Regions from separate parts of the Homo sapiens genome. Here all the other regions are linked to region 3. The links are contacts of gene promoters, found by promoter capture Hi-C in blood cells and fetal thymus (Javierre and others, 2016). All regions are on one chromosome and are shown on one strand. The core of a region is centred on a gene start or on the middle of the fragment in contact, and the rest is flanking DNA. Distances in the headings are between cores, read along the strand shown. Region 1 overlaps KCNJ12 (potassium inwardly rectifying channel subfamily J member 12). Region 2 has its middle 65 kb from the start of LINC02693. Region 3 holds the start of DHRS7B (dehydrogenase/reductase 7B). Region 4 overlaps LINC02693 (long intergenic non-protein coding RNA 2693).

Region 1 (2,700 bases), core at 1-2,500, 290 kb before region 3:
GCTCTGTTCCTGGTTCCCAGTTCCAGTTACCCCAGGCTGGGCTGCTCTCCCCTGGGTGTGGCCGGTGGCTGGGCCCCATCCTGTCTGGCTCAGCAAAAAGGGGGCCTCAGGTGGCAAGACCTGTAGAGCCCTCTGTGTGGGAGAGACGCCTGCAGGGCCCACACCCCCCATCCAAGCACACATGGAGCTCCTCCATGCCCTGCTCCTGGCGCTGGGCACCAGCGGGGACCGAGACGGCAGTCCCTGCCCCGCAGAGCTCGCAGCCTGGTGAGGACAGCAGACTGCAAGCCTGGGGGTGACCGCTGCCTCCAGAGGGAGCATCTGCCATCCCTCGCACTGGGTCCGGAAAGGCCTAGACTCGAAAATTGAGGAGCTGGGTCTGCTAAGACCTGAGGGGAAAGTGTCAGGCAGAGGGAAGGCACGCACAAAGGTCCTGGGGTGGGGGGACATGTGGAATGTCAGGGAAACCAAGGGACAGGGTGCCTGCAGCAGAGGGGCAGGAGCAGGAGTGAGAGCAGGGAAGGTTGGGCTGCACGGGGCGGGCTTGCAGAGGTGAAGCGGGCAAGGAGCAGCTGGGGTTTTATTGCCAGTGTTAAGGAGAAGCCAGGGAGGGTTTCAGGCAGGGAACTGCAAGGCCTGATTCTGGTTGTAAGAAGACCACTCTGGTGCCGGGTGGAGAGTGGGCTGAAGGGGGTCCGATGTGTCCTTGGGGCCCCCACTGCTGTTGGGGAGCACACAGGCAGCTCTGATCTGGGCTGTGATTCCTCCCAAGTTGTGGGGGTCCTCCCTGCAGACCGGTTTTAGGAAGGGAAAAGTGGAGATGAGTCCAGGGCAGGCCCCAGCTGGGGCACCCCTCCACTGGCAGAGACCGCAGCCCAGCCCTGGTCACCAGCAGGCAGAGGCCCTGAGGTGTCCAGTGCCCAGCAGGGTGGCAGCATCTGGGTCAACTGACTGAAGGGCCCAGGGCCTGGCTTAGATCCCAGCTTGAGGAACTACCCTGTGGGGGCCTCGAGCAAGTCCCTTAGCTTCCCTCGACCAACCTCCTCTAAAATAGGTTAGCAGTGCCTCTGAGGCCTGCTGACACGGGCCAGCCCAAGATCAAGGGTGGGGCCTGACAGACCTCAAACATCAAGCTCGCAGGCGCTCAGTGAACGCTCACAAGCTCTCCACCCCCATCCCAGCTCTACCTGTTTTAAAGCAGATTCTGGATTGGGCTCACATCATCCCTGGAGAGGCAGGGAAGTGCATGGAAGTCACGCAGACCTGGGGTTAGGCCTGGGCTATGTGTTCCTTGCTGTGACCTTGAGCCAGAGCAGCACCTCCGGGTGCCCCTCAGGAGGGCGGGCAGTGCCAGTGCAATCTGACTTAGCAGAAGGCAGGCACTGAGGAGCACTCACTATGTCAGGGTTCTTTCTCCTCCTTTCCAACAAACCTGTGAGCTGGCCATTCTTATGAACACCCCCTTTTTGCAGATCAGGAGACCGAGGCTGGAGGGGGAAAGGAATTCACAGGAGGTCCCCCAGCAAATGAGTGGCCTGCATTCTGACCCAGGGCCCTTTGCGGCATTAGTACAGCCAGGACAGCGCACCTGGAGACTCTACGATAAGCATTTGTTGAGCACCAACTGGGGCCAGGGCCTCATGCCTACCAGTCAGCGCCATGGGAATGGCCCGGAGGGCTTGAGTGAAGACAGATGCTACCGTGTTTTGGCCCCAGTTGGCCTTGATCCTGCTACTGGGGTCCCAGGAGGGCCCCAGAGTCAGAAAGGAGGTCCCCACCAAACCAAGCCACCTCCAGGGTCCCCGGGTCACCCCAAGTCCAACCCAAGGGAGCTCCCACTGGGAAGCCTTCATGACCCCCTAGGCCCTGGCACCCAAGCCCCTGCTCCACATTCTGCCATGCACGGCACCATCACCCAGGAATGACTCAGGCAGGGGATTCTTATCCGGGGTTGTCTGGAATCATCATCGAAATCCTGCAGAAAGAGGGTGCCCTGAGTCCTTTGCTGATGCAGAGGAGTGGAGAACTCTCCACTCACATAGTTTGGGAAGGGAAGGAATTCTCTCCCCACAAGTCCCTGCTGAAGACCTTGGAGATCTGGGGCTGAGCCTCAAGGTACAGATGAAAGTCTAGTTTCCCAAAACTGGGCCGTGTGTGTTCCCTCACCCCACTCCAGGCTTGTCTCGTCACCTCAGTGGAGACATTGGCACGCTCTGAAACTCCTCCTCAGCCCCTGCCTGCTACAAGCTGGAGCAGGGCTTCCCCTCCTGGGAAAGGAGTTGCCTGTCTCAGGTCAGCCTCCCCCAGCTGGGGAGGGCGCTGCTGCAACAGCAGGCACCCAGCACATCCTTGCAGAAGGAAGGGAAGGCAGGAGGCTCGGCCCTGCCGCCTGGGATGGGTGACATCATGGGACAAGCCCTGTGTGCTTGCTGGAGACCACTGGGAGCTGCAAGGAGGCTGAGTTCTGTTCCATCTCCCAACAGCTGCCACCATGCCCCACCCTCACCCATGAGGAAGCCCCAGGAAACCCCCACCCAAGGCGGAGGCTGAGGAAGCCGGGCGGACGCCCAGCACGCTGTGGAGCCATGCAGGGGAACTTCAGAAAACACATCTCAACACAGGGGACCTCAAAGAGATCAAAATGCATTTAATGTGGTCTAGTCTCATCGCCTACGTCTTTAGATACTGCTATGTATTGAA
Region 2 (2,700 bases), core at 44-2,543, 360 kb before region 3:
GTGTTAGTTTGCTGAGGATAATGGCTTCCAGCTCCATCCACGTCCCTGCAAAGCAACGGACTCTGTTGCCACACATGGTTAGGATGGTGTTTGTGTACACAGTGCCTCTGGTGACCCACACATTTCTGGGGACACCCATCAAAGACCCCTTAATTCATGACACTGGACAGCTCTCCTAGGATGGGACTTTCCCAGGACTATCCAGGCAACAAGGGCCAGACCACAAAAATTCCTTATGGATGGGACTTCTTATTAAGACAAACATTCCCAACAGCTGGACACATTCAGAGCAAAAAGTGTGCTGCCTAAAACCTTGTATCTCAGGTTCCCAGGCATCTTCAGACTGAACACCTGATGGGACCCAAAAATCACACCCCAGATGGTAGAAACAAGAGACAGTGCTCCCACTTGTCACAAGTCAAACACTCCAGGGCATAAAACAAGATGAGAGGGGTCCTCATCTGGCTTCTATTTTGTTTTTGTTGTTGTTTTGAGACGCAGTCTCTCACTCTGTCACCCACGCTGGAGTGCAGTGGCATGATCTTGGCTCACTGCAACCTCTGCCTCCTGGGTTCAGGTGGTTCTCCTGCCTCAGCCTCCTGAGTAGCAGGGATTACAGGTGCTCGCTACCATGCCTGGCTAATTTTTGTATTTTTAGTAGAGATGGGGTTTCACCATGTCAGCCAGGCTGGTCTTGAACCCTTGACCTCAAGTGATCTGCCCACCTCAGCCTCCCCAAGGACTGGGAGCCACCGCACCTGGCTTGGCTTCTATTTTGAGGACCCACAGCAAAGTTTGAATGCCCATCTGATCTCAGCCGCAGACTGGCTGCTCTTCAGGTCTGGCCTGAACAATGGGCTGGCAGGATCTTCAGCCCCCATTCTACCCTACAAGTCCTCTCCTCAGGACAGAACACAGGAAGACCAAGACAGAGGAGAAGAATCCTCCTGGAAGGAAGGGCACTAAACAATATGAATATTCACACCAAAAAGTACACCAGAGTCGCTGCACCCAACATTGTTCACACAGATCCTTTCTCACACTAATCAACATCTTGCAGAGGAAAAATGACTGATTTTTACCATCTGCTCACCTGGATTCCACAGAGAGACCAGCCAGAAGCCTGGCTGGTAAGAATTTGTTACCCTTCTGCCAGCTTGTCAGGTCCTGGGTCCCCTGACTGAAGCTTCCAGAAGAGCAAAGCAGCTTTGGTATTCTGTTCAGGACACCAAAACTGTAGGGGCCAAAAGAAAACCTCCACTTTGCCCTTGAAAAGTTCACTGAAAAATCAACTCACAAAAGTCAGATTAATTGGAGAAATGGCATGCACGTTTATTAATGTGCAGATGGAGAAGGACCAGAGCGATGATCCCAACCCCACAATGGTGTGCAGAAGCTTATTTACCGCCTTGAGATTACAGAAGGAACAGAGGCTGGGATGACAGCAAGACAGGTTAGGGGAGAGGGAGGAGGAGGCCTGGCTGGCAAAGGTGGTCTCAGAATGCAGACAGAACCACACAGACAGCAGTCCTCGGAGAGAATAGATGGTAAATGTTTCTTTCTGATGGCTAAATATGTCAGACTGTGAGGGACTCCTTCCTAGATCCAGACAAGGGAAGGCTTCAGAGGAAACTTGCCTGCGTCAGTGCGGATTCTCTACAGATGCAAACCTTCCCCTCAAAAGACAGCTTTGCAGGGCTGCTTCTGTTTGCAGGCCCCTCTAAACAGCCATCTCAAAATGTGTCCAAATATATTATGGGGTGAAATATTTTGGTTTCCTTCAACTACATCCTTACTACTTAGTTCAATGCAATTTCTCTTAGCCATGAACTCTTCAAGTCTTCTTTTTTGCCTGAAAAGGTTTTGATTCAATTCATAATCTTGAGTGATCACTATGTAAGCAGATAAATCTTGGTTGACAGTTATATTTCCTCAGTATATTAAAGAAACCTGGCTGGGTGCAGTGACTCATGCCTGAAATCCCAGCACTTTGGGAGGCCAAGGTGGGTGGATCGCTTGAGCTCAGGAGTTTGAGACCAGCCCGGGCAACATGACGAAGCCCTGTCTCTCCAAAAATTACAAAAATTAGCCGGGTGTGGTGGTGCATGCCTGTAGTCCCAGCTACTCAGGAGGCCGAGATGGAAGGATCCCTTGAACCCAGGAGGTGGAGGTTGCAGTAAGCCTGAGATCACACCACTGCACTCCAGCCTGAGCAACAGAGTGAAACTCTGCCTCAAAATAAATAAATAAATCTTTCCATGGTTGTTGTGTGGCTGTTGAGATATCTGCCTTGTCTACATTAATTTCTCTAATTTTTCCTATCTTTTATTTTGATGTAATTTCAGACACTTTAAAAGTTGCGGCCGGGCGTGGTGGCTCAGGCTTGTAATCCCAGCACTTAGGGAGGCTGAGGCAGGTGGATTCCCTGAGGTTTGAGACCATCCTGGCCAATGTGGTGCAACCCCGCCTCTACTAAAAATGCAAAAATTAGCTGGGCATGGTGCGGGGTGCCTGTAATCCCAGCTACTCAGGAGGCTGAAGTAGGACAATTGCTTGAACTCAGGGGATGGAGGTTGCAGTGAGCTGAGATCGCACCACCGCACTCCAGCCTGGGCAACAGAGCAAGACTCCATCTCAAAAAAGAAAAAAAAAAGTTGCAATAGTAGTGCAAAAAAAATCCATTTATGATTCCTTCAGATT
Region 3 (2,700 bases), core at 87-2,586:
GTGAGCCACTGCGCCCAGCCAAGACAGGGTCTCACTTTGTCACCCAGACTTGAATGCAATGGCGTGATCTCGGCTCACTGCAGCCTGTCTCCCAGGTTCAAGCAATCCACTTGCCTCAGCCCCAACAAATAGCTGGGACTACAGGCGTGTGCTACCTTGCCTGGCTAATAGCTCTATGCCTTTGGATAAACTTCTTAACATCTCTAAGCCCATTTCTCCCTCCATAAATAAAAATTATAGTTCCTATGATTAGGGTTATTACAGGATTGAATAATTCAGTAAAGGGATTAGTACAGTGCCTGTAACATAGCAAACACTCAAAAAATATCAACTATTATTAAGGAATGGAGAAAAGGGGACATGTACATGGTAGGGAAGGCATATTCCACACCCTTGGCAAAGGCACAAACATAGCTTCCATTATGCAAACACACCGTTGCAATCGGCAACAGTGTAAGCAAGAATTCTGCTTACTAAATGTATGAGTGTGTGAAACCCAAACGTTACTTCAAAAGTAACTTCACGATTCTCCAATCACTACATGGAAGGTTTGGAAACTGAAAAAAAGAGCATTATGTGGCTACCATTTGTTGAATACCTACTATGTGCCAGACACCAGCTGAGCACCTTGCACGCGCAGTCTCATTTACGCTTCACAACAACCTTATGAGTGGGCTTGTTACTCCCAAAGTTACAGCTGAAGAAACACTCAGAGTTTAAAACATTTGCCCAAAGCCGCACAGCCAGGAAGCCGCAGAGTAAGTATTGGAAGAGCAAGATATCTCAACCAGCCATTCCCGTGGACGCTCGAGTCAGCACCCTCCTCCTGCCTTCTGAAAAACCGGACTTCCTTTGCTAGTCCTAACTCGCCGTCACTGGCTAAGGTGCCACTGGCCCCCAGCGCTCAACCCTCGGTCCTGCCACTCGCAGACGCTGCGGAGCCTCCCCTACGTCGCGCAGAAATGTGGGAATAAACAGGTTGAAGCCAGGAGCCCTGTGGGCGCGAGGCCTTTCACACACAGCGCCCGGCGCGACACCCATTCCCAGCAGCGGAAACTGGACTCAAGACACCTCGGCGACAGGCGGGTTTCCCCGCCACGCACTCGCCGGAGCCAGGGCTCTGGTCCCAGCGCCTGGGCTGAGTCTTCCTTCAGAGTTCGGCGTCGCGGGGATCCGGAAGCCGCCCAGGGCCCGCGGCCTTAGCTCGACCACTACACCGCTTCCCCTCACCCAAGCCGGGGCGTCGCCTCAGCTCAAGGCCAGACCCTATCGCCTCATCTCGGAGGTTCCTTCTTCCCCAGCCCCTACCTGGTAGCCGGAGAGACCATAGTCAATCAACTTCATCCTCCCGCCTCGGAAGTGACGTGTACGCAGCCGGCGAGGCTCCGTCCAATCCCAGCATTGAGGCTGCGCATGCGCGTTGGGTGGGCGTCCCTCAAGGTGTACACAGGACCCGATGGACCCGAGATCTGATAGGGTCCACCCGCATAACTACAGTGCCTTCATCTTCCGGAGGGAAATTCCGAAGGTCGTGGTTGGTGTTCCGTGGACTTCCGGCGAAGAACACAGTTGGAGAATTCACGATACAGTTATCAAGATGATTATAATGCCACAGTAATCAGAACAGTGTGATAACTGGCACAAAGGTAAAAACAATGAATGAAAAAGAGAGAGACCAGAAACAGACCTGCAGCTATGTAGTCACTTTTTCCTCCTACAAGTAGCCACTGTAATGCAATAAGAAGAGTTTTTTCAATATATAGTGCTAGGTCAATTGAAGGTCGATTGGGGGGAAATGAACCTTGACTCCTATCTCAAGTAAAATAATTCTAGACGGATGGTAGACCTGAATGTGAACAATACAACTCTAGACAATAAAATCGCAGAATATTATGACCATAAGAGAGGAAAATAACGTGTTAGCAGAACACAAAAAGTGCCAGTCCTAAAGGAAAAAGCTGATAAATTGGGTGTCTGTAACTATAAGACACCGAAAAGACCCCATTGAGAAAAGGGAAAGACAATAGAACAGACAAGATATTTGTAATACATATATCTGAAAATGAATTTTATTCAGAATATGTACGTACTTCTTGCAAGTAAATTTTTTAAAGGACCCGAAGTGATTTAAAAAAAAAAAAAAAGCATGAAAAGAGGATATTGAGAGAGTAAAGGGCAGAGGAAGGAAGGGGCAGGGCAGAGGAAGGAAGGGGCGGGGGGACTCTTATCGTTCAAAATCATAAGATGGCAAATGTGTGTAAGGTGGAAAATCTCCCTTTCTGTTCTCCAGGACCCACTTCACCTCCCCCTAGGTAACGATGCTATTAGCTATGTGTGTCCTTCCAGAGCCAGTTTATTCATAACCAAGCAATTATGTATGTATTCAGCACCCCCTTGTTACACAAACAATAGCATTCTGAAACGTCCTTCTGTTTCTTGCTTTTATTAACTTTAGCGAATTAATATATCCTGGAAATTCTTACAGATATTCACAAAATCTGAAAATGGGAAATTTTATTTTTAACTAAATATTTATTTTTGACGTTTTCACAAAAGTTTTTATACCTTTCTGGCCCCTCTCCATTGTTCTGGAAACTCTAGATTCCTGCTTGCCAATTCACAAAGTTTGAATATCCTTGTAGCAAACCCAATATGAACCGTAAGGCAGAAAAATAGGGTCTGGAGACAGGGAACCTAAGG
Region 4 (2,700 bases), core at 189-2,688, 420 kb before region 3:
ACTTAAAAGAACATGGTAACAAAATGAACTCTTTAGAAACTGAGCCAACAGACTTGCAAACAAATAGAAATACCTTTGGTCCTACTCTGAAAACAAGAAGAATCCTTAGTGAGTATACAAGAACAAAAATTGTACACATTTCTGGGTCATAATGCAATAAAACTAGAAATAATCAAAAGAGAATTTAAAGATGTTCAGCTTCCTGAAAATGTTAAATTATCCTTTTAAACAAATTAATGCCTGCATCAGGGTGCAAATCCAAAACACAAATACCTTGCCTATAAAAATATATTTTTGCAAACAACAGTGTATCGGGATGTGAGGAGAGAGCTCACTGACTCAAAAGCTCCCAGAGTGACCAGATGTGTTCATGGGAACCGGAGCACTGCCCTGGAGTCATTTGACATCACCTTATTACAAGTAGGAACAGCCATGCTGGGAGATGCTCAGATGCCAGTAATAAGTCAGAGGATTCCCTCCTGAATGGGACCTCCCAGTCCTCTTTGGCACAGGGTTCCAGGCAGTGACCACAAATCCATCGGTGATGGCTTACAAGATCAACCTGCCCTCAGGCAGTGGAGTGGAAACTGGCACTAGCAGCTACAGTGGAAAAAATGAATGGCCTCTAAGAATATGTCATCTGCCCCATGCAAAGATTCTGGATCCCAGAAGTCCTCCTAGTAAGGACTCGGAGCCAGACAACTTCATTTCCTGTCACCTGGGCTGCTCTCCCTCTGACAGCTATGGAAATTGGTGAAGCACAGGAACGTATTGGAAATGGCAATGATGTGCCATGCCAATGTGTGGAAGTGTACAAGTTAAGTAATATTTTAAAAACAGAACACACAACAGTTTGCACAATCCGACCAAAGCTCTGTCATGTATGTTTCTAAACAAGTTTGGAAGAGAATTTGGAAATGGCTGAAATTTTTTTATAAAGCTTATGTTTTTAGTTTGTTTAAATGTAAAAGCATACACTTAGAAACAAGTTAGTATGTAAAAATTTTTAATCTTAGCTATCTGGAAGCTTCAAATACTTAGAATGAGGCATTTCCCAAAGGTATCTGTAACTTGAATTTTACCGTAGTTTGAAAACTCTTGCCCAGCATAATGGCTTACAGCGGTAATCCCAGCACTTTGGGAGGTTAAGGTGGGCAGATCACTTGAGCTAGGAGTTAGAGACCAGCCTGGGCAACATGGTGAAACCCCATCTCTACAAAAAATTTAAAAATTAGCTGGGAGTGGTGGCACTGCTGATAGACACAGCTACTCAGGAGGCTGAGGTGGGAGGATCCTTGAGCCCGGGAGGTCTAGGCTGCAGTGAGCCGTGATCGCACCAGTGTACTTCAGCCTGGGCAACAGTGCCAGACCCCGCCCCCTCCCCTAGAAGAAAGAAAACTATTAGTTCATAGTGCAGTTGATGAAATAATGTACATCCACAAAGAAACAAGCAATCATAATATGTATATAATTACTCAGTATTAAAATATTGTGTATAGTATTACATATATTGAATACCTATAATGAATGGGGCACTGCTTTAAGCACTTTATACTCATTATCCCACAAGAATTCTCTCTCCAGCAGGTCTTAGTATATTCAATTTAAAGGCTAATTAGTAAGCAATATATAGAATTGAATGAGAAACTACTTAAAACATAGAAGGCTCTCGAAAATACAATGTGGAATGAGTAATGCAAGTTACAGAGATACACAGCACATTTATAGAAAGTGTAAAAACTTACAAAGTTAAACAGTATATTATTTAGAGAAACAATATATTATTTAGAGATATTATTATGTAATAAAAGTATAATGAAAGTCAGGGAAATACTTTTTGTAAAGCTTCAGATGAATGATTGTCCCAGATGGGGTTACATTTCAGAAGGGCCAACCATGCAGATGGCTTCAAATGTAGTGGTGCAGGTGATGGGTACAATGTATTTATTTTACTTTTATGTGAGTCTGTGTATGTGTGTGTGTCTGTGTAATTTTGTATGTATAAAATAGTTCGTAATAATTTTTTTTTTGAGTTGGGATGTTTCTCTGTCTCCCAGGCTGGATTGCAGTAGCATGATCACGGCTCACTGCAGCCTTCACCTCTCAGGCTCAAGTGATCCTCCCACATCAGCCTCCTAAGTACCTAGGACTACAAGTGCGCACCACCATGCTTGGCTAAATTTTTTAAATCTTTTGTAGAGATGGGGTCTCACTCTATTGTCCAGGCTGGTCTTGAACTCCTAGCCTCAAACAATCCTCCTGCCTCAGCCTCCCCAAGTGCTGGTATTACAGGGTAAGTTGCTGTGCCCAGCCTAATTTTTTTTTTATTTTTAAACAGCTTTATTGAGGAAAAATTCACATACCTTATGATCTGCTAGGGTTTAGTATAATCACAGATATGTGCAACCAAAACCATGGTTAAGTTTACAACATTTTTATTAGTCCTGTACCTTTTAGCTATCACCCTGTTCCCCCACCCCTACCCCAGCTGTAAGCAATCACAAATCTAGTTTCCATCTCAATAGATTTTTCTTCCCTGGGCATTTCATATAAATCAATCCATATAAGTGTTTTTTCATGTCTGGCTTCTTCACATTTGTCTCATCCAGAAGGTGCCTGAATTTTTCCACAACTGGGAATACTAAGCTGTGGGGTGAATTTTTGGTTCCCAAGTGAATGTGAATGAGGCAGATTGGAAGG

The links. Contacts are between HindIII fragments. The CHiCAGO score rates a contact against its expected background, and 5 or more counts as called.
Region 1: a fragment that was not itself captured here is called in contact with the fragment with the promoter of DHRS7B in region 3 in 1 of 17 cell types (M0 macrophages); the score reaches 5.2 in M0 macrophages.
Region 2: a contact is called between a fragment that was not itself captured here and the fragment with the promoter of DHRS7B in region 3, in 3 of 17 cell types (naive B cells, total CD4 T cells and naive CD8 T cells). The highest score is 7.8, in naive B cells.
Region 4: a fragment that was not itself captured here is called in contact with the fragment with the promoter of DHRS7B in region 3 in 4 of 17 cell types (total CD8 T cells, fetal thymus, naive B cells and 1 more); the score reaches 7.5 in total CD8 T cells.

Annotation. Positions count from the first base shown.
Region 1 is chr17:21,419,798-21,422,497 of GRCh38, reverse strand. KCNJ12 (potassium inwardly rectifying channel subfamily J member 12) reads right to left here. Exons shown (of 3, transcript NM_021012.5): 3 at 2,628-2,700. Among named protein-coding and RNA genes, the nearest start is that of KCNJ12, 45 kb to the right of the region's middle. The HindIII fragment of the contact is 7,786 bases long and covers 1-2,700 here.
Region 2 is chr17:21,485,657-21,488,356 of GRCh38, reverse strand. No RefSeq gene overlaps it. Among named protein-coding and RNA genes, the nearest start is that of LINC02693, 65 kb to the left of the region's middle. The HindIII fragment of the contact is 210 bases long and covers 1,189-1,398 here.
Region 3 is chr17:21,125,600-21,128,299 of GRCh38, reverse strand. DHRS7B (dehydrogenase/reductase 7B) reads right to left here and starts at 1,336. Exons shown (of 7, transcript NM_015510.5): 1 at 1,309-1,336. The coding sequence starts at 1,328. RefSeq lists an enhancer at 1,015-1,674. The HindIII fragment of the contact is 14,531 bases long and covers 1-2,700 here.
Region 4 is chr17:21,546,299-21,548,998 of GRCh38, reverse strand. The region is part of intron 1 of LINC02693 (long intergenic non-protein coding RNA 2693); the gene reads left to right. Among named protein-coding and RNA genes, the nearest start is that of LINC02693, 4.0 kb to the left of the region's middle. The HindIII fragment of the contact is 818 bases long and covers 1,030-1,847 here.